Linked DNA regions of Homo sapiens: regions 1, 2, 3, 4, 5 and 7 are each linked to region 6. Evidence: promoter capture Hi-C in 16 types of primary human blood cells and fetal thymus (Javierre and others, 2016). All regions are on one chromosome and are shown on one strand. The core of a region is centred on a gene start or on the middle of the fragment in contact, and the rest is flanking DNA. Distances in the headings are between cores, read along the strand shown.

The links. Contacts are between HindIII fragments. The CHiCAGO score rates a contact against its expected background, and 5 or more counts as called.
Region 1: a fragment that was not itself captured here is called in contact with the fragment with the promoter of NDEL1 in region 6 in 4 of 17 cell types (erythroblasts, megakaryocytes, total CD8 T cells and 1 more); the score reaches 12.5 in erythroblasts.
Region 2: a fragment that was not itself captured here is called in contact with the fragment with the promoter of NDEL1 in region 6 in 8 of 17 cell types (naive CD4 T cells, fetal thymus, naive B cells and 5 more); the score reaches 10.4 in naive CD4 T cells.
Region 3: a fragment that was not itself captured here is called in contact with the fragment with the promoter of NDEL1 in region 6 in 1 of 17 cell types (monocytes); the score reaches 5.2 in monocytes.
Region 4: a fragment that was not itself captured here is called in contact with the fragment with the promoter of NDEL1 in region 6 in 7 of 17 cell types (monocytes, M2 macrophages, M1 macrophages and 4 more); the score reaches 10.6 in monocytes.
Region 5: a fragment that was not itself captured here is called in contact with the fragment with the promoter of NDEL1 in region 6 in 1 of 17 cell types (monocytes); the score reaches 5.4 in monocytes.
Region 7: a fragment that was not itself captured here is called in contact with the fragment with the promoter of NDEL1 in region 6 in 3 of 17 cell types (naive CD8 T cells, naive CD4 T cells and total CD8 T cells); the score reaches 5.7 in naive CD8 T cells.

Annotation. Positions count from the first base shown.
Region 1 is chr17:8,119,491-8,123,116 of GRCh38, reverse strand. HES7 (hes family bHLH transcription factor 7) reads left to right here. Exons shown (of 4, transcript NM_001165967.2): 2 at 1-86; 3 at 687-774; 4 at 1,080-2,525. The coding sequence ends at 1,546. TRL-TAG1-1 (tRNA-Leu (anticodon TAG) 1-1) reads left to right here and starts at 2,722; the gene lies at 2,722-2,803. It overlaps TRR-TCT2-1 (tRNA-Arg (anticodon TCT) 2-1), which reads right to left and starts at 2,192; the gene lies at 2,105-2,192. It overlaps TRQ-CTG1-5 (tRNA-Gln (anticodon CTG) 1-5), which reads right to left and starts at 3,365; the gene lies at 3,294-3,365. RefSeq lists silencers at 937-1,046, 1,267-1,726, 2,667-2,876, 3,247-3,336, 3,467-3,516. The HindIII fragment of the contact is 3,122 bases long and covers 169-3,290 here.
Region 2 is chr17:8,894,242-8,898,045 of GRCh38, reverse strand. The region is part of intron 5 of PIK3R5 (phosphoinositide-3-kinase regulatory subunit 5); the gene reads left to right. It overlaps LOC124903920 (a long non-coding RNA gene), which reads right to left and starts at 860. Exons shown (of 3, transcript XR_007065611.1): 1 at 770-860; 2 at 460-625. RefSeq lists enhancers at 2,906-3,105, 3,116-3,185. The HindIII fragment of the contact is 540 bases long and covers 1,418-1,957 here.
Region 3 is chr17:8,852,546-8,855,993 of GRCh38, reverse strand. All of the region lies in intron 1 of PIK3R6 (phosphoinositide-3-kinase regulatory subunit 6), which reads left to right. Among named protein-coding and RNA genes, the nearest start is that of PIK3R6, 13 kb to the left of the region's middle. The HindIII fragment of the contact is 7,845 bases long and covers 1-3,448 here.
Region 4 is chr17:8,786,386-8,789,967 of GRCh38, reverse strand. No RefSeq gene overlaps it. Among named protein-coding and RNA genes, the nearest start is that of MFSD6L, 11 kb to the left of the region's middle. The HindIII fragment of the contact is 602 bases long and covers 1,242-1,843 here.
Region 5 is chr17:8,915,178-8,918,715 of GRCh38, reverse strand. All of the region lies in intron 1 of PIK3R5 (phosphoinositide-3-kinase regulatory subunit 5), which reads left to right. Among named protein-coding and RNA genes, the nearest start is that of PIK3R5, 49 kb to the left of the region's middle. RefSeq lists silencers at 2,323-2,392, 2,823-2,872. The HindIII fragment of the contact is 9,333 bases long and covers 1-3,538 here.
Region 6 is chr17:8,434,248-8,437,750 of GRCh38, reverse strand. NDEL1 (nudE neurodevelopment protein 1 like 1) reads right to left here and starts at 1,867. Exons shown (of 9, transcript NM_030808.5): 1 at 1,706-1,867. RefSeq lists silencers at 1,314-1,553, 1,594-1,793, 1,894-2,063. The HindIII fragment of the contact is 3,991 bases long and covers 649-3,503 here.
Region 7 is chr17:8,877,636-8,881,166 of GRCh38, reverse strand. PIK3R5 (phosphoinositide-3-kinase regulatory subunit 5) reads left to right here. Exons shown (of 19, transcript NM_001142633.3): 18 at 150-262; 19 at 381-2,251. The coding sequence ends at 528. LOC124903919 (a long non-coding RNA gene) reads right to left here. Exons shown (of 3, transcript XR_007065610.1): 1 at 2,863-3,531. Among named protein-coding and RNA genes, the nearest start is that of PIK3R6, 12 kb to the right of the region's middle. The HindIII fragment of the contact is 927 bases long and covers 1,410-2,336 here.

The DNA of each region.
Region 1 (3,626 bases), core at 480-2,979, 310 kb after region 6:
CGCTTGTGGAGAAGCGGCGCCGGGACCGCATCAACCGCAGCCTGGAAGAGCTGAGGCTGCTGCTGCTGGAGCGGACCCGGGACCAGGTCAGTCCCTCCGCTAGCCCTAGGTCCCCAAGCTTCCCGTTTCCGCGTCCCAGGGCTTCCCACTGGGGTGGGGACACAAGCTTGGTTGGCAACCCTGGCCCCAAGGCATCCTCACCCGAGTCCCGCCTTTGGAATTCCATCCCAGACCCCCACTCGCTCTCAGAACGCGATCTTCTTCGCCACCCCTCGGGTCTGTAAGTTTCACGCCTGGTTCTGTAAATTTCGCTCCCGGGGTCGGTCAGTTTCACCCTTTGGGTCTCTAAGTGTCCGGTTCCCCCTCCCCCACAGCCAGCCTCTGATGAGCCAGCCTCTGTTATGTCGGGTGGTTAATTTCATTCCCTGGGTTGCGGTTTCAAATCTCCTCCTCACGCGTTGGGCATTGGTTCCAACCCCTAGGATTGGACAGTTTCGTCTCAGGGTGGGCCAGGACTTTCCTTGGTCATCTCCACTCCGCATTTGGTCGCGCGTTCTGTGGGCAGTGCGCAAATGCGATCGGGGGCACCACCAGCTCCCGCATCCGTCCCTCCCTTCTTCCCCCTGCCACTTTCCCCCTTTCTCCCCACCCCTTTCTGTCTCTGCGCCCTCCCCTCCCGTCTGTAGAACCTCCGGAACCCGAAGCTGGAGAAAGCGGAGATATTGGAGTTCGCCGTGGGCTACTTGAGGGAGCGAAGCCGGGTGGAGCCCCCGGGTACAGCGCGGGGGTGGGGCAGCGGAGGGAGGGAGGGGGGACGCCAGGAGGCTCCGGCCGGGGCAGAGTGGGCGGGCCCTGCGGTGGATGGTGGGCTTGGGGAGTGGCCGGTTCTGCTCCGAGGCGAGGTTAATAACACCCGCGCGTGTCTGTCTCTGTGTCTCCCTCATTTTCTCCCTCTTTCCGTCCATCTGGCTTCCTGTCTCTGTGCGCCTGTCCGGCCTTGGTATCTCTGCGCCCCGCCCCTTCCCTCACCCCTGCCGGGCCCCTGCCCTGCCCACCTGTGCTCCCGCCGGCCGCACCAGCCGCCGCGGCTCCAGGGGTTCCCCGGTCCCCAGTCCAGGACGCCGAGGCGCTCGCCAGCTGCTACTTGTCCGGTTTCCGCGAGTGCCTGCTTCGCTTGGCGGCCTTCGCGCACGACGCCAGCCCGGCCGCCCGCGCCCAGCTCTTCTCCGCGCTGCACGGCTATCTGCGCCCCAAACCGCCCCGGCCCAAGCCGGTAGATCCGAGGCCTCCAGCGCCGCGCCCATCCCTGGACCCCGCCGCACCGGCCCTTGGCCCTGCGCTGCACCAGCGCCCCCCAGTGCACCAGGGCCACCCTAGCCCGCGCTGCGCATGGTCCCCATCCCTCTGCTCCCCGCGCGCCGGGGATTCTGGCGCGCCGGCGCCCCTCACCGGACTGCTGCCGCCGCCACCGCCGCCTCACAGACAAGACGGGGCGCCCAAGGCCCCGCTGCCCCCGCCGCCCGCTTTCTGGAGACCTTGGCCCTGAGCCTTGGGGGGTGGTGGGGGCGGGGTCTAGGGGTGGGGTAGAGACTCCAGCCCGAGGGCAGCAGAGGGACCCGGGCGTCCGGGCGAGCAGGTGTTGGGGAGGGCAGTGGGGCGCGCGGGCTCAGCGCGCGGGTGAGATGTGGTCTATATTAGAGTATCTATATAAATATATATTTCCCTGGTTCCTGTCCCTTTTCCCTGCCCCAACTTCTCCCTTGCGTCTAGGATTGTACTCTCTCTGCCCCTCAGCCCAGTCCCAGTCCCTTCCCGAGTCCCTAGTGCATGGAATAAAGTGGTTATTAAATCCCCGTGTGTCCCCGAGCCAGGGGCCTGCCTTTATCTCGACGTCCACGCCCACTTTCCCTTCCCTTCTGTCTCCCACCCTCAGTCCTGCTCTCCATGGCCCAAGCCCCGGGGCAGACAGGTAAGTAAAGAAGAGAGCAGAGCGGGAACTGAGATCGAAATTGAAACCAGGTGGAAAGAGAGAGATAGGGTAGGGGGAGAAGGGATGGGGGCCTTTAAGAAAAAAACGGATAAAAAGGAAAAATTGAAATAAAATCGACTCTGGTGGGATTCGAACCCACAACCTTTGAATTGCTCTATTCGTCACTAGAAGTCCAATGCGCTATCCATTGCGCCACAGAGCCACCCGACGAACGGCGGCGTCTTGTAGCTTACGGGTACTAGAGTGGGAATGGGGCAGGGTTGGGGAGCGGGGCTAAGGGACTTGGGCGGGACATGCCAGGAGGGCGCGGTTTGGATCTCAGAGGCCAAGCCAGGTAGAGGTAGCGGGCGCAAAGCATGTTAGCCAGGTGAGAGAGAGGGCGCACATGGGTCGAAAAAACAGGGAGGGAGAGCAACCGAAAATGGCTGAGCGAGCGAGTGCAGAGCTCCGGCTGCCCGCTTGGGGGGTGTTTCCGGCTCAGGCGCTCCCCACTCCCAGATATAGTCCCACCCAAATAAACTAGTTTTGTTGTAAATTTCTGTGTGTTTTTGTCTCTTCTCGTTTATCTGTTCTGCCATCTGCTGCTATGCGGTCCACAGTCTCGATGGTTCTTCATTTCCAGTCTAAAAGATGTGGAAAAGGAGACGAATCAATTTGGCACTCTTAAGATTTGCCCCATTCCTTACTTCTAGTCTCTTAGGAGGACAACGGGGACAGTAAGTTTTCGTGCAGGTAGCGTGGCCGAGCGGTCTAAGGCGCTGGATTTAGGCTCCAGTCTCTTCGGAGGCGTGGGTTCGAATCCCACCGCTGCCAGGCTGGAGTTTTTCTGGTGGATTACGCACCTGCTACAGTTCTGTTAACAGTTCTGTGAGGTTACACCTATTTACATGCAGAAAGTAATTTTACGAATTCCCCTGGTAATGGTTTCACCATCATCTTCCGTGTTTGGTCTTCCAGAGAGATCATAGGCCTGCATCCATCCCAGAAGCTAAGACCTGATGGTAACTGCTGAAGCAATATTTCGTTTCTTCATAACATCTCTATTATTTCGTTTCTTCATAACATCTCTATTTTAACATGTTTTCAAATGTTAGCTCAACTTCCAACATATTTAAATAATTTATTGTACGTTCTCTTAACACTGTGTTATAGGACTCAATTATCCGGTAGGAAAAGCACAAATAATTGGTAGTGTCCTAGTTTACTTTTTTTTTTTGTCGTATTATCTTGGGTCATAGGAGTATCCCCTCTGTGAAAATCAATTAACAATATTCAACATGCTGATATTAAAAGAAAAGCTTCAAGGTTCCACCGAGATTTGAACTCGGATCGCTGGATTCAGAGTCCAGAGTGCTAACCATTACACCATGGAACCTCCCTCGTGGTGTCTTTCAAGATTGTGTACATTACTGGACATTCTATTTTGCGTGTCTTCCACACCCGTCACTTAAAACGAAAACAAAACAAAGTCTGCTGTTGGATATGGTAGACACCGTTATCGAGCACTTGAAATATATGAATTCAGATGTATTGCCAGCTTCTAAATACACATCTTCTTTTGAAGGAAGGCTTTGTACAAACAAAAAGACTTAAAATTTCATTAATATTTTTAGAATGTTGATTATATGTTAAAATA
Region 2 (3,804 bases), core at 438-2,937, 460 kb before region 6:
TAGGACTGAGCTGGCTGCCTATAGCAGAAAGCCCCAAACAACTATGCCTTAAACTCTCAGGGGCTATTTTTCTTTTACACACAGACACACAGACACACACACCACACACACACACATACACACACACAATCTGTATGAAGGCAGGCCAGCATTGGCATGGTGGCCCCATGAACATCCTGGACCAGCCTTCCCTCATCTTTCCACTCCACCATCCTTGGCAAAAGTCACCATCTTCAAGGTTGCTTCTTGGTCTAGGATGGCTGCTGGAGTGCTGGCCATCATGTCCACATTCCAGTTAACAGAAAGAAGGAGGTGAGGGGGGTTGCACCTAACACATTCTGCAAGGGAGGTTGAGAAATTGACTCATCAACTGGGTACAATGCCCAGTGTCCCACTCATAAAAAAACGAGGAATGGATATTGAGTAGATGCCTAGAAGTCTCTGCCACATATGACTTACTTGTAAGAGTAGCCCATAAGGCCTGGATTGGTCCTGTTAGGGTGACTCTCACCAGGGTGGTGAAAGGGTGTTATGAAAGGTCTCATCTCAGTTCGCCCCCACAAGCCCGGTGGCTCTGCAAAGCTGGAGACCTCATCCCACAGGCGTTTCCGTGGGGTCACTGCACCTGTTCAGAGCAGCATATGTCTTGTGGTGGCACTGGCCTTTCATTCCAAGAACTCACATCTCCTCTGCCTGCATGAAGGCCTGCCCAGTGGGTTCCTTCCCCCCAGTATTTTCCTCTTGGCTTTCTAGCCACATTCCTTCTCACCTTCCCCCTCTCTGCTCCTGGACTCCCGGTGGCCAGAGATTCCGAGCCTCCCTTGTTATGTCTTCTCCTTTGTTTATTCACCTGAAATCCGTGCTTCACCTTCCTGCCCAGGCCCTGCTGAGGCCCACAGCCATGAGTCCCCAATTCCTCCAGCCTCTCTGGAGTCCAGGACCCTGGGGATGGGGAGCAGGAAGGCGCTATACATGGGACCCCCAGTGAGGAGGGAAGTGTAAGAGAAACCCTGCTGTGGGGAGTGGTGTGCCTGGTGTTTGCTTCAGGGTATGAGGTAGGTCAAACTGTCCACCATGAGTTGATATTAATCATAGTTGCTGGAGAACCAAACCTGATCTAGTCTCATTTGGAGATTGCAATGCCGTTGGGGCCGGGCTCTGCTTCCACCCTGTTGATTCCGTGGAATCTTGGTGTTCCCCTTGTAGGAGGAAACTGAGTCAGATGTGGTTGCTCCCTGCCTCCCCCAGGCTCAAGTACCCACATCACCCTCAGCATGGACCTGTCTATCCGTGTGTCATTAATACCAGTGCTTGCTTGATGGCAGATGTAGTGATTTTCCTGTGTCCTGGATCTTCACAGTCTGCTGTTCTGTGCAGGATCCCCATCTATTTGCAACTTTGAAAAAGAGTGGAAGCTTTGATGGGTGAACAAGGCTTAATGGCGAAGGGCCTTGGACACCTGGGCCAGGAGTTTGAACTTCACTATGAGTGTGTTCTGCCCACTCACCCCGTTCTTCGCCTGTATGGGGTGACTTCTCTCAATTTCTTACTTGCTAGAGCCTGACGTAGGAACAACCCAGGCAAGATTTTTGTTTAGCCCTTGCACCAATCTTGATCTAAGAAGCTAAACTCAGAAAGTTGTTTCCATCTGCTAAGGTGACCAAGAAAGGGTGTGATCTAAGATCAAAGGGAGAGAGGTGTCTGTGGATCTGAGGCTCCCCAGTGCAGCCTCCCTGTTTGGGGAGTGGAGGGTGGAGTTAAGGGTGGTCTCGAAACTGACATTGCACACCCCACTTAGCATTCATGGCCTCCCTGGCATCACCAGGTAACATTGTGAAAACCAAGCCCATGGAGGGTGCTGGGAGATATTTCCAACCTCACAGCACATACCAGCAAATGGGGACTCGGCAGTACAATCTCTAAGCCAGGCTCAAAGGAGTCAGTCTGTACAAAAGCTTATATTATCAAAGCCTCCTCCACATTGCACAGTCTTTTCTAATGTGTTCCCAGCTCAGGCCCCAGCCCACCAGTTAATTACCCCAAAACCCCACACCCCATGCTAAGCAGGGAGGTCCATTACCAAGAGAGGCCAAGGAAGGGGGTTGATGGTGTTTTGGGGGTGAGGGCGGGAGTTTATCTGATGATCATAGGTTCTGCTTGGGAACTGTTGGTACCTTGGGTATTCAGCACCAGCCAAACAACTCTGAAAATCACTCTCTCTGGGTCAGAGTGTGCCAAGAGGCACAGGTATCCTCCTAAATATCCCCCATTAAAGCAACGGGACACATAGAGCAACAGTCGCGTGGAGTCCACGTAGCTCATACGAAGCAGCTTCTGATTCTAACTGTAGCACAATCCTAAAATGAGACTAAGGCACACGAATATAGATGTTAGAGACTGCTCCTCATCCTAGAGACAAGAGGAGACGAAGGAGCTTCAAGGAGAAGGTTGTCAACAGTACCAAGCACTCCAAAACAAAAGTTCAAGCAGCGTGAGGATGAGGTTGGGCCGTTGGGTATGGGGACGGGGAAAATGTTGCCAAGCTTCAGGAGAGCAGGGTCAGGAGGGCAGAGGGGTTGGAAGCCAATGGCTGGGCGTGTTGGAAGAAAGCTGATGTGGAGGGAGAGCGACGTCAGAGTCTACTGCTTCCTGGAGTATGACCGCCTGGATGTCCTTGGTCAACAGAGGCAGAAGTGGCGGTGAAGAAATGGGGTCAGCGGGGTGTGGGTTAATGTTAAAAGCATTAAACAGTAAAAGAAAAGAGAAATAAGGTCAAGAGAAGATTTTGCGTATCTATGTGTTTTATGGTCAGGGAGATGGGGAATATCTGTTTGTCTCCGCTATGGTAGCTATGGTATTATGTAGAGGTGGTTGGAGAGCGGGTGAGGATCTCTTCTCTGTAATGCACGTGAGTGGCCACCAGATGGTGTCCCAAGTCCTGATGTAATAGCCACTGTGTCAAGGACTTATCTGGCAAAATGGACCAAACGTTAACTTCTAAATATGCGATGATTACATAAAGTAAACATCACGCAAAAGGCCAAAAATCAAAGCAATTAGGTCCCAAGTTAGAAGAGCATTATGTGGTAATTTTCTGCCTTTTACTAAAGGAACCTCACAGCCTTTCTATTTATAGCTGTCTTTAAACCCCAACCCCCGCCCTACCCCGCCCCCGAGACTTGCACTTCTGAGGGGACGTCCTGCAGGTTCCCAGCTCAGTCCCAGTTCAGAGTGGCCCTGCTCTCGATGGGGACTGCCCTGGGCCTATTTCCAAGCTATGACAAGAAGGCGACCCACCCCGCTGGGTCCCCAGCCCCTGCTCTGTGAGGGAGTGAACTCCCGCTTTCTGTTTCATCTCCTTGTCATGGTGGAAACAGAACTGAATGCACACTGTAAAGCGACTACTGTGCACAACAGAGTCAAGCTGCAGAAACAAAAGGAAAACCTTTGGTGTGTTTCTTCTCAGCATTTGGAAGTCAGAGGAGACAGAGAGGGGGAAGGGCCAGGGAGAAAGGGGATGCGGGCTGGGAGAGGAGCCTGGGATGCAGATGCCTCAGAGCACGGAGGACGCCAGGCCAGACCACAGTCCTTCCCGATCCCCGGACTCCAGGCAGAGACGGGGAGGTGCAGGTGGGGAAACTCGAAACCCACTGCCTGGCTGGAGCTAAGGCAAAGTGGATGGGCTGAGAGGTGCCTGGCATAGCGGGAAGGCACCCCGGACCGGGAGAGGGGGCAGCGGCAGGGACCGAGGAGTAGCCCTGCGGCACAAGACGGGGCAGCCTCCTGGGCCCAGGTTCTGCCTCC
Region 3 (3,448 bases), core at 410-2,909, 420 kb before region 6:
GCCGAGGATTCTGCTGTGTGGGTGTATCACAGTTTGCTCATTCACGTACCCACTGAAGGCATTTGTGTTGTTTCCAGTTTGGGGCCATTCTGAATAGAGCTGCTATATATATCCATGAGCAGGTGTTTGTGTGAACATAAGTTTTTATTTCTCTGGAGGAAAAAGCTAGGGATTACGGGATCATACAGTAAGTGACGCATAACTTTATGAGAAATTGTCAAACTGTTTTCCAGAACGGCTGTGCCATTTTGCATTCTCACCAGTAACGTATGAGAATTCCAATTCCTCCTGACGGGTTGATGGGTGCAGCAAACCACCATGGCACGTGTATACCAATGTAACAAACCTGCACGTTCTGCACATGTATCCCAGAACTTAAAGTATAATTTTTAAAAAGAGAGAATTTCAGTTCCTCCGTGTGCTCTCCAGCACTTTCTATTGCTCATTTTAAAATCTTAGTCATTCTAATAGGCATATAGTGAGATCTCATGGTTTTCATCTGCCTTTCCCAAACTGCTGATAGCATTGAGCATTTTTTTAATGTGTTTATTTGCCATCCACATATCTTTTTTAGTAAAGTATTTATTTAGATCTTTTGCCCATTTGGGGAGTATTATTTGTTTTCTTACTGTTGAATTTTGAGAGTTATTTATTTATCCTAGTTTTCTTTTTTTTTTCTTTGTCAGATGTGATTTGCAAATATTTTCTCTAGGTCTATACTTTGCTTCTTCATTTTATTTTATTATTTTATTTTATTTTATTGTTGTTTTGTTTTGTTTTGTTTTGTTTTGTTTTGTTTCTGAGATGGAGTCTCGCTCTGTCACCCAGGCTAGAGTCCAGTGGCACGATCTCAGCTCACTACAACCTCTGCTGCCCGGGTTCAAGTGATTCTCCTGCCTCAGCCTCCTGAGTAACTGGGATTACAGGCATGAGCCACCACAGCCAACTAATGTTTGTATTTTTAGTAGAAATGGGGTTTCACTATATTGGCCAGGCTAGTCTTGAACTCCTGACCTCAGGTGATCCACCCACCTTGGCCTCCCAAATGTTGGGATTACAGGTGTGAGCCACTGTGCCCGGCCCGTTTTTTCATTTTGTTAAAGGTATCTGTCATAAAACCAAAGTTTTAAATTTTGATGAAGTCTAATTTGTCATGTTTTTCCTCTTATGGATCATGCTTTGGTATTGTATCTAAAAACTTCTTCCTTCACATGAGGTTACAAGGATTTTTTCCTATGCTTTCTTCTAAAAGTTTATTGTTTTGAATTTTACATTCAAATCTATGTCCACTTTTAGTTTATTTTTGTGTAAGGTCTGGAATTTACGTCAAGGTTTTGCTTCTTGTTTTGCATATCGATGATCAATTGTTCCATCACCATTTGTTGAAAAGACTCCTTTCTCCATTGACTTGCCTTTACAACTTTATCAAAAATCAATTAGCCATATCTGTGTGGGCCTGCTTCCGAACTCTTCGTTCTGTTCCATTGATTTATGTGTCTAGCCCTTCACTAATAACTTTATAGTAATTCTTAAAATAAGGAGTGCGAAGCTGAGCGTGGTGGCTCACACCTGTAATCCCAGCACTTTGGGAGACCGAGGCGGGAGGATAACGAGGTCAGGAGTTCAAGACCAGCCTGGCCAACATAGTGAAACCCTGTCTCTACTAAAAATACAAAAATTACCTGGGCATGGTGGCGTGTGCCTGTAGTCCCAGCTACCTGGGAGGCTGAAGCAGGAGAATTGCTTGAACCCAGGAGGCGGAGGTTGCAGTGAGCCAAGATCACGCATCGCACTCCAGCCTGGCGACAGAGCAAGACTCCGTTTCAAAAAAAAATAAAAATAAAGGAGTGTGAGTTCTCAGGCATTATTCATTTTCAAAACTGTTTGGCTAATCCAATTCCTCTGCCTTTCCCTATAAACTTTAGAATTGACTTATATGTATCTACAAAAAAAAATCCTGCTGGTATTTTTATTGGAATTACCTTAAATATGTAAATGATTTTGGAGAGAATTGACTTTTTTTTTTTTTTTTCAGACGGAGTCTCTCTCTGTCACCAGGCTAGAGTACAGTGGCATGATCTCAGCTCACTGCAACCTCCGCCTCCTGGGTTCAAACGATTCTCCTGCCTCAGCCTCCCGAGTAGCTGGGACTACAGGCGCATGCCACCACACCCAGCTAATTTTTTCCATTTTTAGTAGAGACAGGGTTTCATCATGTTAGCCAGGATGGTCTTGATCTCCTGGCCTCGTGACCTGCCCCCCTTGGCCTCCCAAAGTGCCGGGATTACAGATGTGAGCCACTGTGCCTGGCTGAGAATTGACATCTTAACTATACTGGGTCTTCCAAACAATGAACACAGTATTTCTCTCCATTTATTTAGGTCTTCTGTGATTTATCTAATTAGCATTTCATAGTTTTCATCATATGGCTCCTGCACGTTTTGTTAGATTTATCTCTAAATATTTATTTATTATTTTATTATTATTATTATTATTTTTTTTTTTTTTTGAGATGGAGTCTTGCTCTGTCACCCAGGCTGGAGTGCAGTGGCACAATCTCGGCTCACTGCAAGCTCCACTGCCCGAGTTCACACCATTCTCCTGCCTCAGCCTCCCGAGTAGCTGGGACTACAGGCACCCGCCACCACCCCTGGCTAATTTTTTGTATTTTTAGTAGAGACGGGGTTTCACCATGTTAGCCAGGATGGTCTCCATCTGCTGATCCTGTGATCTGCCCCCCTCGGCCTCCCAAAGTGCTGGGATTACAGGCGTGAGCTACTGCGCCCCACCTAAATATTTATTTAAAAAAAAAATTTGGAGCTATTGTAAATGGTATTGTATCTTCCGAATTCAGCCAATACAGATGTACACCATAATTTTATAACTGCATAGTATTTTGTTGCACAGATTAATTTATTTACTTGGTACTCTATAATTGTGCCTTTATTTTTTTTTTCTGGTTGTACTCTATTGTTAACAATGTTTTAATGAATGCTGTTGTACATATCATTTATCCATTTGTCCAATATTTCCCTTCAGATAGGTTTTTAAAGGTCGAATTGCTTAGACAAAAAAGTATGAATATTTTGAATTTTGATAAATATTGTCCAGCAATCACCCAGAAAGGCTATACTAATTTCTCTTCTCACCAACTATGTATGACTGGAAATTTTCTCATATCCTATCCTTGCCAATACTGGATGTCATTATCTTTTGTCATAATTTTTGCCACTCTCTCTCTTTTTTTTTTTTTTTGAGACAGAGTCTCCCTCTGTCACCCAGGCTGGAGTGCAGTAGCGACATCTTGACTCACTACAACCTCCACCTCCCAGGTTCAAGTGATTCTCCTACCTCAGCCTCCCAAGTAGCTGGGATTACAGGCACACGCCACCACACCTGGCTAATTTTTTTATTTTTTAGTAGAGACGGGGTTTCACCACGTTGGTCA
Region 4 (3,582 bases), core at 293-2,792, 350 kb before region 6:
GTGAAGGCCCTGGGCTCAAGCGTTCTTCAGGTCACCCTTCCTTCATAAGTATGTACTGAGCAAGGCTGTGATCCTTCAGGGTGCTGGGTGAGTCTTTAGGAACGCGTCTACCACTCCCTCCTGCATAACGTCACCAGATGCCTCCCACATCTTCCCGGGGTAATTAATGTCACCTCCCAATGGCTTTATGCCATTCTGCACATTTTGTTCACAGGGCCGCAATCATTGTTTGGGGATGCACATGTGAACTACCCCCCCCGTCCGATCGGAGTAACACTCAACGGACTCTCTCCCTTGGATATGAGGCCGATGCTACCCACCCTGCCTATTTGTGCAGATGTGAAACCTTGAACTGCACTTTGTTTCTATGACAAAGCCTGCCTGGGAACAATACTGACAATTTAGAAGGAAAGGCCGAACCACAAAACCATGTCCACAAACAGAATGGGACAGGACAACGTAAATGTCAAGTGAGAAGTTTAAATAGTGAGCATTTCTCTCTGGGCAGACAGGACAGCTGAGCGCAGGGACCTTCTGAAAAGACCCTCATGGAGTTTATGAAATAAGCCGGCGTATGGAGGAAGGACTGGGTCGTAAAGTCTTAGACTTCAAGCTGTGACTTTCACTCTATTACCTACTTTACCAGTAGGTCAGTTAAGCTTTACAGAATCAAAAGTAAATACAATTCTCAGCTCCTGATCTTGTAGCTGTTAAAGATATTGAGTTTGACCCTCTGACATGTCTTGGTTCCAGCTAAGAGGAATGTAAATATTGAATGAGCCATTAACCATCATGCTCAGGTTTACTTAGACCACTATTTCCCAACTGAGTTTTGCAGAACATGCAATCCTAGTGGTGTGGAGGGTTGGGGAGAGCATTACATAAGGATTCTGTCTGTGGTCAAACAACTTTGGAAAATGATGTTAATTATTGTCACCTTTTAGAAACTTGCAATACCTGTTAGCAATTAAAGACTCTCAAAAGCCTGCAGTCAACAAACTTGTTTCTCTCTCTTTGACCTATAATTCCCCTTATGTGGTGTCACAGCCTTCTTCGCATGTAACACTAATCACGATCTTTCAGAACTAGTGTTCCCTAGAAGACCCTTTGAAAAATGCCATTTGTAGTTTTCTGGATGATCTTTTCAACCCAATAGAGTTGATGCCAGGGACAAATCTGGGCTCCCACACCCAGACTAGCAGGAATCTTGTGCGTCGGGCTAATAAGAGGTGGACAAAGCTTATCTCATTAAGTCAGACCATCAAATTTATGAAATAAGATATTAGTATGGCCTCATTGTACAGGTGACTTGACTAAGGTTCAGAAAGGTTAAAATTCGAAACTAGATCTATCTGACCACAGAGTCCGTCCTCCCAACTGCTACATTCAACCAACTCAGGCAAGTGAAGAGGCTCTTCCTAGCAGGGGAGCAATGATCAGGGATAGGGGCACAATAGAGATAACACACCAGATACGCGTGTAGATTTCACAGGAGATTCATGGAAAATAAAGTTGGAAAGAAGTGTTGGAACAGATTGTGAACTTCCTAAGCCTCAATCTAAGGGAAACAGAACTCACACTGGTTGAAATTTGCTTCTGCTCTTTATGCCTCACACCTGCACACAGCAATACTCATAATCCTCATACTAATCTCAATTTACAGTAGGGGAAACCAAGGCTCAGAAAGGTCAACTGACTTAGTTGCCCATGGTTGCGACTATTAGATGGTAGAGCCATGGTTTGAACCCATATCTGGCTGCTAGAAATCCACGGTTGTTCCTCTGAAGACTATGGGGCCTCTAGAAGAGAAGATTTGACTAGCCAATGGAGAGGACTGAAAGCTTTTAACTCTTGCCTGTTGCGAAGTGAACAATGAGTCTGAGTTGGTGGAGATTATGGGTGCTGAGACATTTGTTTTGGACAGACCACCACAACATTCCAGGCAAGAAGAGGCTGCATCCCAAAAGGTATGAGAATCAAATGACAACATAGTATGTGTATTGGAATTTCAAAAGTGGAATCAACAAGACAGCCCTTGGTTGTTTATTGGATAATGGGGCCGCGGGGATCAACGAAGAAGGAGTATCAAGGATCGTGGATGATTTTGTAATTTTGAACCCATGTGATGAGGAGGAAATTCTGCAGAAATGGCAGAGCCCGGGAGCCCATGAAGCCATCCATCCAAAACCTGAAACCAAAGCTCAGATCATAAGAATTATAGACAATACAGGCCGGGTGCGGTGGCTCACGCCTGCAATCCCAGCACTTTGGGAGGCCAAGGCCGGCGGATCATGAGGTCAGGAGATGGAGAGCATCCTGGCTAACACAGTGAAACCCTGTCTCTACTAAAAATACACACACACACACACACACACACAATTAACCAGGCGTGGTGGCGGGTGCCTGTAGTCCCAGCTACTCAGGAGGCTGAGGCAGGAGAATGGCGTGAACCCGGGAGGCGGAGCTTGCAGTGAGCTGAGATCGCGCCACTGCACTCCAGCCTGGCAGCCTGGGCGACAGAGCGAGACTCCTTCTCAAAGAAAAAAAAAAAGAATTATAGACAATACAGCAAAAACTCCTCATCTGCTAGCTTCCTTCTACAATTGCTGACTGTCACTGAGACCAGAAGCCCTGCCACTTGGTGATGTTTGTGATGTGGAGCAAAGCAGAAGGCATGCTCAGCATCCACTGGCTTTCCACAGCCATGTTCATGAAACCTTTATCTTTTTGCTAGCCTGGCTGTGAAATGGCTTGGAGACATGAGGCTCCACTGGACTGAAGTTCTTTCCAATCCTGGGAGCCTGCGGTGCACGACAGAAACGTGACTGGTGAGGTGTTGCTGTGGTTTGAATATTTGTCCCCTCCAAAACTCATGTTGAAATTTAATCCTCTATGTGACAGTATTGAGAGGTGGGACCTTTAAGAGGTGAATGGTTCATGAGGATGCTGCCATCATGGATAAGTGAATGGGTTAATGAATTAATGGGTTATTATAGGAGTGGGGCAGGTGGCTTTATAAAGAGAGAGACCTGAGCTAGCATGCCTAGCCCCCTCGCCACGTGAGGCCCTGCAACACTTCGGGACTCTGCAGAGAGTCCTCAGCCTGAAGGCCCTCACCAGATGTGGCCCCTTCACCTTGGACTTCTCAGCCTCCGTAACTTTAAGAACTAAATTCCTTTTCTTTCTAAATTACCCAGTTTCAGGTATTCCATTATAAGCAACAGAAAACGGACTAAGACAGTTGTCATCTGCTACAGAAGTAAAACTTAAAATATGACCCCTGGGCAAGTCACTTACCCCACTGGGTCTCAGCTCCCATGTCTGAAAAATGAGGGCCTTGGTCTCTGTGACCTTCTAAGTTTGTGCCTCTCGGCCTTGACGTGATTCCCTCCTTTGGGCCAAGGGCACACCAGCCCTTCTCACCCTGCAGAATAGCATAGCATTCTGGAACCCGAGAGATGCTGGGGCCTGGAATGAAGGTTCATCTCCTTCCCCAGAACCTGGCAGAAAGTTCCTGGTCTGTGTGCAGAAGGACCACATTGAGCCAAGACACCAGCCCTATAGGCCAATCGATCTGCCCTC
Region 5 (3,538 bases), core at 288-2,787, 480 kb before region 6:
AATACTTTGAGGCTATACAAATATCCTATTTGTCCACAGATTTTCACTAACAGATTTTTAGCATTCATCAGTGGATCTACAATTATTACCATGGTGTTTGCCTAGTGACAATTTTCTATTTCTCTCATTCCTCTCACATTATTAATTGGAATTCTTTTGTAAAGAAGACCTGTCATTTCTCCTCCATTTATGTTTTTATTCAATTATCTATAACATTTAATTATCTATAATTATCTATAGACTTGTGGGTATTTATTTTATTCTATGAGTTATAATTCATCACTTTCTTTGTTCATTCAAATTGTCCTAGCTGTGGCCATTGGAAGCTCCTTCAGGTTAGACCCTATGTCCTTTTGACACTCCCCATGGTTTTTCAAATATTGACTTATTTTCTGGCACTACAAGATGTGCTGGGTTTATTTTGTATATTTCCTGTTTCAATCCTAGGATCAGCCATGTCTCCAAGGAGCTCTGTTTCCTTTTATTGGAAAATGGTATTTAGAAACCAAGATCTGGGCACTAGGTGTGCTTGTTGCTACTGGGATGTCATTGCCTCTGGGCTTTCTCTGTAGACAGAACTAGAAAATGTATGTATGTGTATTAATCCAAGCACATACATCTTTTTAAAATTTTTCTATATGTATTTATCTGTATATACATTAAAAACCATGAGTTCATACTGATTCTTTCAAGTCTGGTCCAACTCCACAAGGTTCATTCCAGCCTTCCCCCTTCTTTATTTGTCACATCTTTCTTTAGCTCTTATTATCTATGGTTTATTCACTTATTTGTCTAATGCTAGTGTACACATAAAGAACTTTCAGATTTCTTTCTTTTTTTTTCTTTTTTTGACATGGAGTCTTGCTGTGTCACCTAGGCTGGAGTGCAGTGGCACAATCTCAGCTCACTGCAACCTCCGCCTCCTGGGTACAAGCAATTCTTCTGTCTCAGCCACCCGAGTAGCTGGGACTACAGGCGCACACCACCACACCTGGCTAATTTTTGTATTTTTAATAGAGACAGGGTTTCACCATATTGGTCAGGCCGGTCTTGAACTCCTGAACTCAGGTGATCCACCCGCGTTGGCCTCCCAAAGTGCTGGGATTACAGGCATGAGTCACCATGCCCGGCCCCGAACTTTTAGAATTTTTAACTCACATTCATATGAGAAACATATTTAATAACTGGAAAACAGTATTTGTCTATAGTTTTTATTTTTGACTTTGACCAGTATCCAGTCAAAGTACCATTTTACAAAGTTACTGAAGTTAGTGCTTTCATTCCCTATCCCCGTCAGTGTGGTTATGTTAGTAATTGATTATACAGTTAGGTTAATTTGTTATTGCTTGTCTCCCACTTTTGGTCCCCTGCCCCCATATTCTGGTTGATTTCGATTATTTATTTAATTTTGGGTATGTAAAATATCGCCATGGTTCTAAGCGTTAAAGCTATACACACAGATAATCCTCAGAGAAGTGCTGTTCCTCCCTCATCTCCAGTTTCATTCCTTGATCCTATCCACCCTTTTCTCACCTCCACCTCCCATAGTAACTAACCAATCTCCTTAATTTCTGGTGTATCCTTCCTGTGTTGGGAAGAATTCTTTTACTTAGGTCACGGTGGAGATTCTGCCTTATGAAGGCATGAGGAAGGGACTGGGGCAGAGAAGGGAGAGTCAAGCCTCGGAAGGTAAGAAGCAGGAGAGGGAGGAGTCATCCAGGACGGAAGCAGGCTGGGTCAGCCCAGGACTGCATGGGCCTAGAATATTCCAGAACACCAGGAAAGCAGTGTGGAGAGCCAGCCAGAACCTGGAGGCCCCCTCCATATGAGATGCAGGCCCTCTAACTCCTCCTTTCATTACTATTTAGAAACCCCCAAGAGGCTCTCCTCCCTGCCCCATCGTGGGCTGCCTTGGGAAGCTGGACCCAGGCAGACCCTACACCTCCTCTGACCAGCCCTGCACCAGAGGGAAGATGAGCCCTCCACATCATGGCATCCTGTCAACATGGGAAGAAAAAGTGGAAGCAGGACTGGCTCTCTCTGTGCCCTCTGGGGTCCCACCAACCCACCCCGACTCCAGGCCTTTCTGCCCCATGCAGGGTCCCCAGCAAGGACTATGAGTCCTCTTTGCTGGCTCAGAAGAGGAACTTGGAGATGGGGGAAGGCCCTGTTGTTGGATATTTCAACACCACCTCACCACTGGCAGGGGAATTGGTGGCGGGGGCGGGGGGGCGGGGGGCGGCATTCCCGGCAGCAGCTGGAATTTTACAATGGGAGCTCCTCTCAACAAGATAGGGAGGGGGCTTGGGAGGGTGATGCCAGGGAAGCCAGGCCCTGCTTGCCCAGCTTTTGAAAAAAGGCGTCATGCTGGGAGAGCGGGTGCCACTGTCTTCCCCCCTCACCTCTGCCCCAAAGCCGTGAGGTTCTGCTGACAAGTCATAAGAAACAGCTGATGACTGACTCAGACGGAAATGAGCGTGTCAAAGGGGTGGGTGGTGAGCCCGGTGTGCTGGGTTAACCCCCAGGGCAGCTCAGCTGAGGGTCCCCTGGCTGGGTTCCCTCTCCCCATCTCTCAGGCTCCCAGGGGCTAGTGGCTCAGGCAAGTCCTGCCTCTGAGAAGAACTTGGGGCGAGCTCGAGAAAGCCTTGGAATGCCGGGGAGGCTGGCACACCAGAATTCCACCAGTGCCTGAGGATATCCTGCCCTTCCGTGGAGAAGGCTTTGATGTGTCCCTTGAGCAGGGTGGGGTTGGGGGGAAGGGGCACACCGAGGCCAGGAGATGGGAAAGTCACAGGCGGCCCCAGAATGAGAAAGAGAAGCCATGGGCAGTCAGGCATTGGGTGCGGTGTGCTAGCAGCAGTCCTATGGCACTGTGTTCTGCCCCCTTAAGGACAGGAGTGTGCAGAAGTGGTGTTGGCTGAGAACATTCATTTGCATCTTGTGTTTGCATCCATTACAGTGTGGGACACGTAATGAGTGAGCAGGATGACTCACTCCTGCTTCATGGCATAACCAGCTTGGCCATCGCAGCAGGGGCTGGGCAGAGGGGTCTTAAAACCCAGATCACACGGTTCAGGACATGCTCCAGGCTAGAGACGCCTGGGCCCCGTGAGCCACCACGGTCATCACCGGTGGAGTCCGAGAGAGTGTTGCTCGGTATCCCCTCTGGCACACACTCCTGTGAGCCTTGGCCTTTTCTCTGGAGGATGCAGGGCTGTGCGGGGCAGCTGGTGTAGATAGATGTGGTGGGGCTCACAATCCCCAGCAACTGAGAGTCTAGATTTTCTTTTTTTTTTTTTTTTGAGACAGAGTCTTGCTCTGTCACCCAGGCTGGCATGATCTTGGCTCACCGCAACCTCCACCTCCCGGGTTCAAGCCATTCTCATGCCTCAGCCTCCCGAGTAGCTGTGATTACAGGTGTGCACCACCACACCCAGCTAATTTTTTGTATTTTTAGTAGAGACAGGGTTTCCCCATGTTGGCCAGGCTGGTCTCAAACTCCTGACCTCAGGTGATCCACCCGCCTCAGCCTCCCAAA
Region 6 (3,503 bases), core at 618-3,117:
AATCTATTTTCAATGATATTGTTTCTGGTTAACAGTTCTAAAATGGACTGACGTTAGAAGAGTTCTTTCAGAACTCACTGTTGGCAATATATGCCTTTTTACTGAAATTCTACTACTCTCAAAGGTGACATTTACAGAATTTTTAACTCTTCAAAGTTGATCATAAACACGGTCTCTCTTTGATTCTATCAGACTTCTTTTTTACTTTATGGAGTGCTCAGAAACTTACGTCAGAAGTAATTTTAAGCTTTAGTAACCAAATTTATCCCAGCATGGTTTAAAATGAAAACAAAAATAAGTTGTTTTGCAGATGTCATGAAAGCAAGATCTAAGTTTTACTAAGGTTCCTACTTATTTTAAGCTCTTTATCCAACTTCAATTTATTTAATTTAAAAAAATCAAAAGAACTACAGCTTCAGAAGATTTAGCAACTTCTATCTGGATCAAGTCAACCTCTAACCAGGGCTGGCCAAAGGTTTTGTTTCTCACGCACTCTAATTTTAAATAACAATAATTTTAATAATAATTCAGAAGAAATACTTCACTTGGTTTCCCTTTACTTCTCTTCAGCCCATGACTTAACGCTGCACTGTGCCCATCAACTTCACGATTTAGCAAAGCAATTAACCAGCAACTCCTGAACAAGCTTCACAGGAAGATTTTTCTCATGACTGAGCAGCCGTTTTTATCCTAGGTGAGTTTTCTCAAAAATAATTGAGTAAGTAATCTACCAGCTTCTGGCATATCTTTGGCAAGTCACATTTTCTGCCTTGTTTTGTAGCTGAGAAGGGTATAAAAATCCCACGAAAAGAAACCAGAACTCCGAGCCTAGAAATGTAAATTATGATCCAAGCTAAACCACTCACCAGTTGGTTGAACCTAAGTATAAATAATTACCCCCATCCCAGCTCCATTTACCCATCGAAATGGCGATAACATAATCAGTTGCAACCACAAGGTGATGCGGTTAGAAAAAGATAGGAAGAAGAGTGCTCTGAAACGTGTAAAGGTGCTACGTAAATAGAAGGTAATAATCAGTGGTGACAGAACTCTCACCTCCTTTGCAAAACTTAAAGGGTCATCTCATGGCTTACAGCAAGAAAAGAGTCGAGCACAAGTAACCCGAGCCCGTTGGTGACACTTTGCCGAACTCCAGGGGGAGGATGATTAGCAGTTCCGGGCGGGAGTCAGGAGAATGCCAATCCGAGCCCAACGTGGGCTGCTCGCGCTCTCGCCCCCCATGGGAGAGAGGCACTGAGAGATCAAAATGCAACCCCGCTCCAAGCCACCCTCGCAAATGAAGGAATTTCGAAGAGGGGGTAGGAGGAGGCGGGCTGGGCGCGCCGCTGCCACCTCCGACTGGGCCACTCCTTGCGCCGCCAGCGCCCCAGCCCACGGTGCCACGTCCCGGCCTCCGTCACCGCCAGCCCTCACCCTACCCGGAACGGGGCACATCTTCCGGAGGCCACCGGAATCGTTCCCTTGCAGGCGCCCCTGGGGGGCCACACATCGGACCAGGGAAGGGAGGGGACAGTTAGAGCGGTTGGAACAGTTGCCCCCAGGCTGGCCGCCCCGGAACCCGGCCCGGCCCGCCCCGGCGGAGCCTCAGACACGGCCCCGGGCCGGGAAGGCTCCCCAAGGGCAGGCCTCGGCGCCGCCGGCCCAGCGCAGCCCCTTAGGGAGCGGCCCCGCGCTGCAGGCTCACCTCCAATGTGTCAAAAGCGCATGTTCGCCGCCGCTCAACCGACGTCTCCCCTCCGCCGGCCCGGCCAGGCCCGCCCAGCCGCTCGGCTCAGCTCCCCTACGCAGCCCCGAGCTCCACTCAGCGTACCTCCGCGCCCGGCTCCTCCCCGACACGTCAGGGACTGCCTGGGTGTCCGAGGCCATTCTGTGACGCACGGGGGCGGGGCTCGGAGCATGCGCGGCAGCGCACGGGTATGCGGGGCGGGGTGGGGCGGGGCTGGTGTCACAGGGGGCGGGCCAGAGCCCGGCGCGCTGACGCCAAGCTGACGGCGTCCTCTTGCGCAGGCGTCCTCTTGCGCAGGCGCTCCTGGACTCTGCGACCGGCTGGTTTTGGCTTGTGCAGTTCCCTGAAACTGCTATTCGGGAGAGTGGTGCCAAGACGGATGGGAACCTGCCTTCAGTTTTCTGGCCACCAAGGCCCTTCAAGTGTCCATGTGTCTGTGTTCCCGTTTATAAAATGAATCTCGGCTCATAGTTCACCTCCGAGTCCATTCCCCCTGCTCGAACACCCAATGGAACATCAGGAGCATTCTAAGCATCACTCTCACAAAGCTCTGTGTTGTTTTTACAGAACTTCCACTGTTTACATTTTGTATTTGTTCTCATCTTCCTCCAGTAGAATTCTAAGTTCTATGAGAGCTAGAACCTCTTATGCCTTGCTCATCCCAACAGATAACTTGGTTCTAGGCAAAGTGGACGCTCAAATATTTGATGAATGAATGAATGGATTCGTTGGCACAAAGGGGATTTTATATTTGCCCATTTATATATTGTATATATCTGAGCATATATTCATTTTTGTATACATGCGTGTACGTGTGTGTATGGGTGTGACTTTCTCCCCTCCAGGTCCCCCAAGAAATGGAGTCCTATGTGTATATATATACCTCTTACAATCCATCTTGGTTTTTGTTTGTTTGTTTGTTTGTTTGTTTTTGAGACGGAGTTTCGCTCTTGTTGCCCAGGCTGGAGTGCAGTGGCGCGATCTCGGCTCACTGCAACCTCCGCCTCCCAGGTTTAAGCAATTCTCCTGCCTCAGCCTCCCTAGTAGCTGGGATTACAGGCGCCTGCCACCACGCCCGACTAATTTTTGTATTTTTAGTAGAGACGGGGTTTCACCATGTTGGCCAGGCTGGTCTCGAACTCCTGACCTCGTGATCCGCCCGCCTCGGCCTCCCAAAGTGCTGGGATTACAGGCGTGAGACACAGCGCCCGGCCCCATCTTGCATTATTAATGTTTATATATTTTTAGTACGTAAACACACACGTGTATGTGTGTGTGCGCGCGTGTGTATTCCCTAGCGGACTTGGAAGCAAGCTGGAGACGATACTAGCCCAAAAAGGAGGGAAAGAGGGATAGGCAACTTACATAGGGAGTGGAAACTTAAAGGAAGAGATACATTTTAAAAACAATTTTAAGAACTTTTGCTGTATAATGTACAAGGTAATCCTTTCCTTTAGGAGATGGGGTCTACTGTGTTGCCCAGGCTGGTCAAGAACTCCTGACTTCGGCCAGGCGCTGCAGCACTTTGGGAAGCCGAGGCGGGCAAATCACCTGAGGCCAGGACTTCGAGACCAGCCTGGCCAACATGGTGAAACCCTGTCTCTACTAAAAGTACAAAAATTAGCCAGGCATGATGGTGGGCACCTGTAATCCTAGCTACTCCGGAGGCTGAGGCAGGAGAATCGCTCGAACCCGGGAGGCGGAGGTTGCAGTGAGCACCACTGCACTCTAACCTGGGCGACAGAGTGAGACTCCG
Region 7 (3,531 bases), core at 624-3,123, 440 kb before region 6:
CCTGGCCATTAACCCTGGAGCGCAGTCAGACAAACCCCTGCCCTCCCACACCCCTAGAAGTGGATGGGCAGTTCTGAGAAAAGGAACTGCCAGGGGCTGGCAGTGTTGGATGGCCAGGGATTTGGGGCTGACCTGGGCCTTCCTTCCAGATTAGCACATCGCAGATCAAAGTGGACAAGGTGCAGATCATCGGCTCCAACAGCTGCCCCTTTGCTGTGTGCCTGGACCAGGATGAGAGAAAGATCCTGCAGAGTGTAGTCAGGTAGGAAAGGGGGGTCCTAGGGAGGGGAGCAGTTTCTGCTCCCACCAACCCAGAGGCCTGGAAGGAGCTGGAAGGATGGGGGCCTGCTCTGATCCCTGGCCCCTGCCCTGCTGCACAGATGTGAGGTCTCACCGTGCTACAAGCCAGAGAAGAGCGACCTCTCCTCACCACCCCAGACGCCTCCTGACCTGCCGGCCCAGGCCGCACCTGATCTCTGCTCCCTTCTCTGCCTGCCCATCATGACTTTCAGTGGAGCTCTGCCCTAGTGTGGGCCCAGCGCCAGACTGGACAGAAGCCCTGGGGCAACCTCCTCGGCCACCCCTCCAGGACAGTCCCTCTCTGTGGAGAACTGAATGGCCCTGTGCAGAGCCATAGTCCCACTGTGGGTCCTGCAATGAGCAGGGGCTGGGAGTAGAGGGTTTCTGGGGCCTCAGGGTTCTGGGAAAGCAACAGCTATCAGAGAGAGAAGGGCCAGACCCCATAGCCTCTTAGATTCCTGGCAGTAGAAGGAGAAGGATGGGTAAATTGACCTCTGAAGTCCCTGACCATTAGCATGGTCTAGGATCCTTTCTAGAAGGAAGATCTGAGGCTCTGGTGCTCAGGGGGATGGCTTGGGCCTTTTCTCTCAACCTTGGCTGAGCCTACCCCTTACTTTGCCAAAGACTTGAGGACCCTGTATGTCTGGAGTTCAGTCCCCTCCTCTGTGGGGCTCAGGTGATTGAAATGTGGATGAAACATTTCTCTACTTCAAGACCACCTCTCCCTGCAAACACCACACACACATGGCATGCATGTACGCACATGCGCACACACACACGCACACACCTCAATAATTTCTCTCAAGTTTCCTGAGTCTCCAGAAAAACAGCACTAACGCTGGACCTGTCTACTCTCAGAACCCGGCACAGATTCTCTCTTGATCTCCTTTTGGAATCTGAGATTCTTAGAAGACAGGATAGGGTTAAATTTAGTAGCAGCTCAGTTCTAGCTAAATCACTAGAGGAAGTTAATTAACTTTAAGCCTTCATTTCTCCAGCACTAAAATGGAGTGGAGAGTTGGGGTGGAAATAAGACATCCTTAAAAGGTTAAATTGTCTGCAAAGCACCTAGCCCAGTGCCGAGCTCCCAGTAGGTGTTCAGTAAAGCTTAGTGCCTGACTTTCTGAACACTGATTCCTCCTGTTTGGAGTCACTGGGATACTCTCATTGCCGTTGGGATGTTCCTCACTCCTTCCCAGTTCGTGGCTGAGGCAGAACCCAGACTGAAGAGGGAAGAGACATTCCAGAGGAGGATTGCCTTCGTCAGGGTAAGGGGTGGGCTGCTCAGGGGCCCTACCCTTCACCCCCTTCTGTATCAGATTGGCCCTCCCACTCCCATCTCACTCTGCGTGTACAATCTTCCATATCCGCAAGTTCACTGGCACTCTTCTGGCACCTGGGCAAGATCCCAGAACAGAGGATGGAGTGACTGGCCTCACAGAGCTTAGTGCCCGACTCAGGGGAAATGGGACTGGTGCATGGGAAATGGTCAGCCTAGGATAGGACACGAGAGTCTGAAATTCAAAGCAACCAGCTTGAAGTGGTTTGAGAAGCTGGAAGCAAACATGGGCTAGAGAGATAGGGCAGAAGTCAAGACGAGGATCTGGACTGATGTGGAGAAAGTAGCCACGGAAGCATGAACTGTATCCTGCACAAAGTCCCTCTTCCCCGCCTCCTAATTCATTATGCCCAAAAGGCCTTACGTGAAATTCCAGCCCAGAGTACTCATGACTTGAGAGACGTGGACAGAGCCAGCTTCTACCTTGCCTGGCCGTCTCTCCCCTGTCTTAATGTCTGCTCTTGCTCTAAGCTCCAGAAGAGTGGCGGGCCATGTATCTTCAATATGTTTTTGCTGTATGGGCAGGTTGTCTTATTATGTGATCAACAGATGTCCAGGAACTAATGAGTGGAATTTAATATTATTGTCAAATAAAACTTGATTTGTCCTATATTTAATGACCAGTAGTTACTTTGCTGCATGACCCTGCTAGTTGGACAGTTTATATAAATCATTTTATTTATACCAGAAAGAAGCTTCATAGGGGATTGTTTTATTTCTCTTTTTGTAATTTTCCACCCTATAGAAAATATATTTGGGTGAAAATTTTCCCCAATACTGTTCTGCTTAAGCCTCATCATACTCACTGACCCACAGAACAAAAATTCCTACACCTAAGGACTCAGCATTTGGGGTTTCCTGTGCTACTTCACTTGAGAAATATATACCCATATATCCATCTGTTTCCTGTACCCCAAGCTCCAGGGAGGGGACGGGCCTGAGGCCGTTGCTGCGGATGGGTGGCACAGTGGATCCTGGACCTACCATGCAGCTGAGAGGAGGGGAAGAGAGCTCAATAATGGCCCTTTGGATCTGGGACTGCCTTTAGACTTGGGTGATAAGGAAAGAGAGAAGAAGAAGTGGAGGGATGGTAGAGGACACCTGTGGCTTGGGAGAGGGAGGTAAGTACCAGGTTGCCAGAACACTATTCAGGATGGAGGGAGAAAGAACTGTGAGCTGTTCCAGCTCTGCATCAGCTGGCTATTGCAAACAATGAAGCATACCTTCAATTCAGGGAACTAAGTCTCCGATCATTTGTTCTTGCTCATGCATCTGGAGGACATCTAGGGACCACCTGATCTAGGCTGGGCTCAGAGTGGCTTGGCTCCAAGCTGCAGGATGGGTGCAGATCTGCTTCGTTGGTCTTTCAGACACATTGGACCAGCATGAGAGGCAAGCAGAGACACGCGATGCCTCCTAGGAATGGAACCTGGAACAAGAACAATATTCCTTCTGCCAATAATTGGCTAACACTGATGAAGCACATCAACCCACAGACTTAATAAACCCAGCAAATTTTGCACAGGAATTTTGACACAGGAATCTCCACACAAGAAAAAAACAAAATCACATGAGAAGTGCACTTTACCTTTGATGTTCTTTCCATAACTCCAGTCTAATCAAGAGTAAAAAAGATCATATAAACCCAGACTATGGGACCAGATAACCTGACCAGTACTCTCTTACTGTCACAAAAAATAAGGAAAGACTGAGAAACAAAAAGAGATGGAGTAAACCTGAAAAATAAGCAGTAGACACTGGCTTGTATCCTGAAACATTAATCCAAAAACTGGTAAAATCCCAATACAATCTGGAGTTCAGTTTTTTCTTAAACACACACACACACATACACACACACACACACACCCCTTACTGTCAAACTTCTAAAGAAA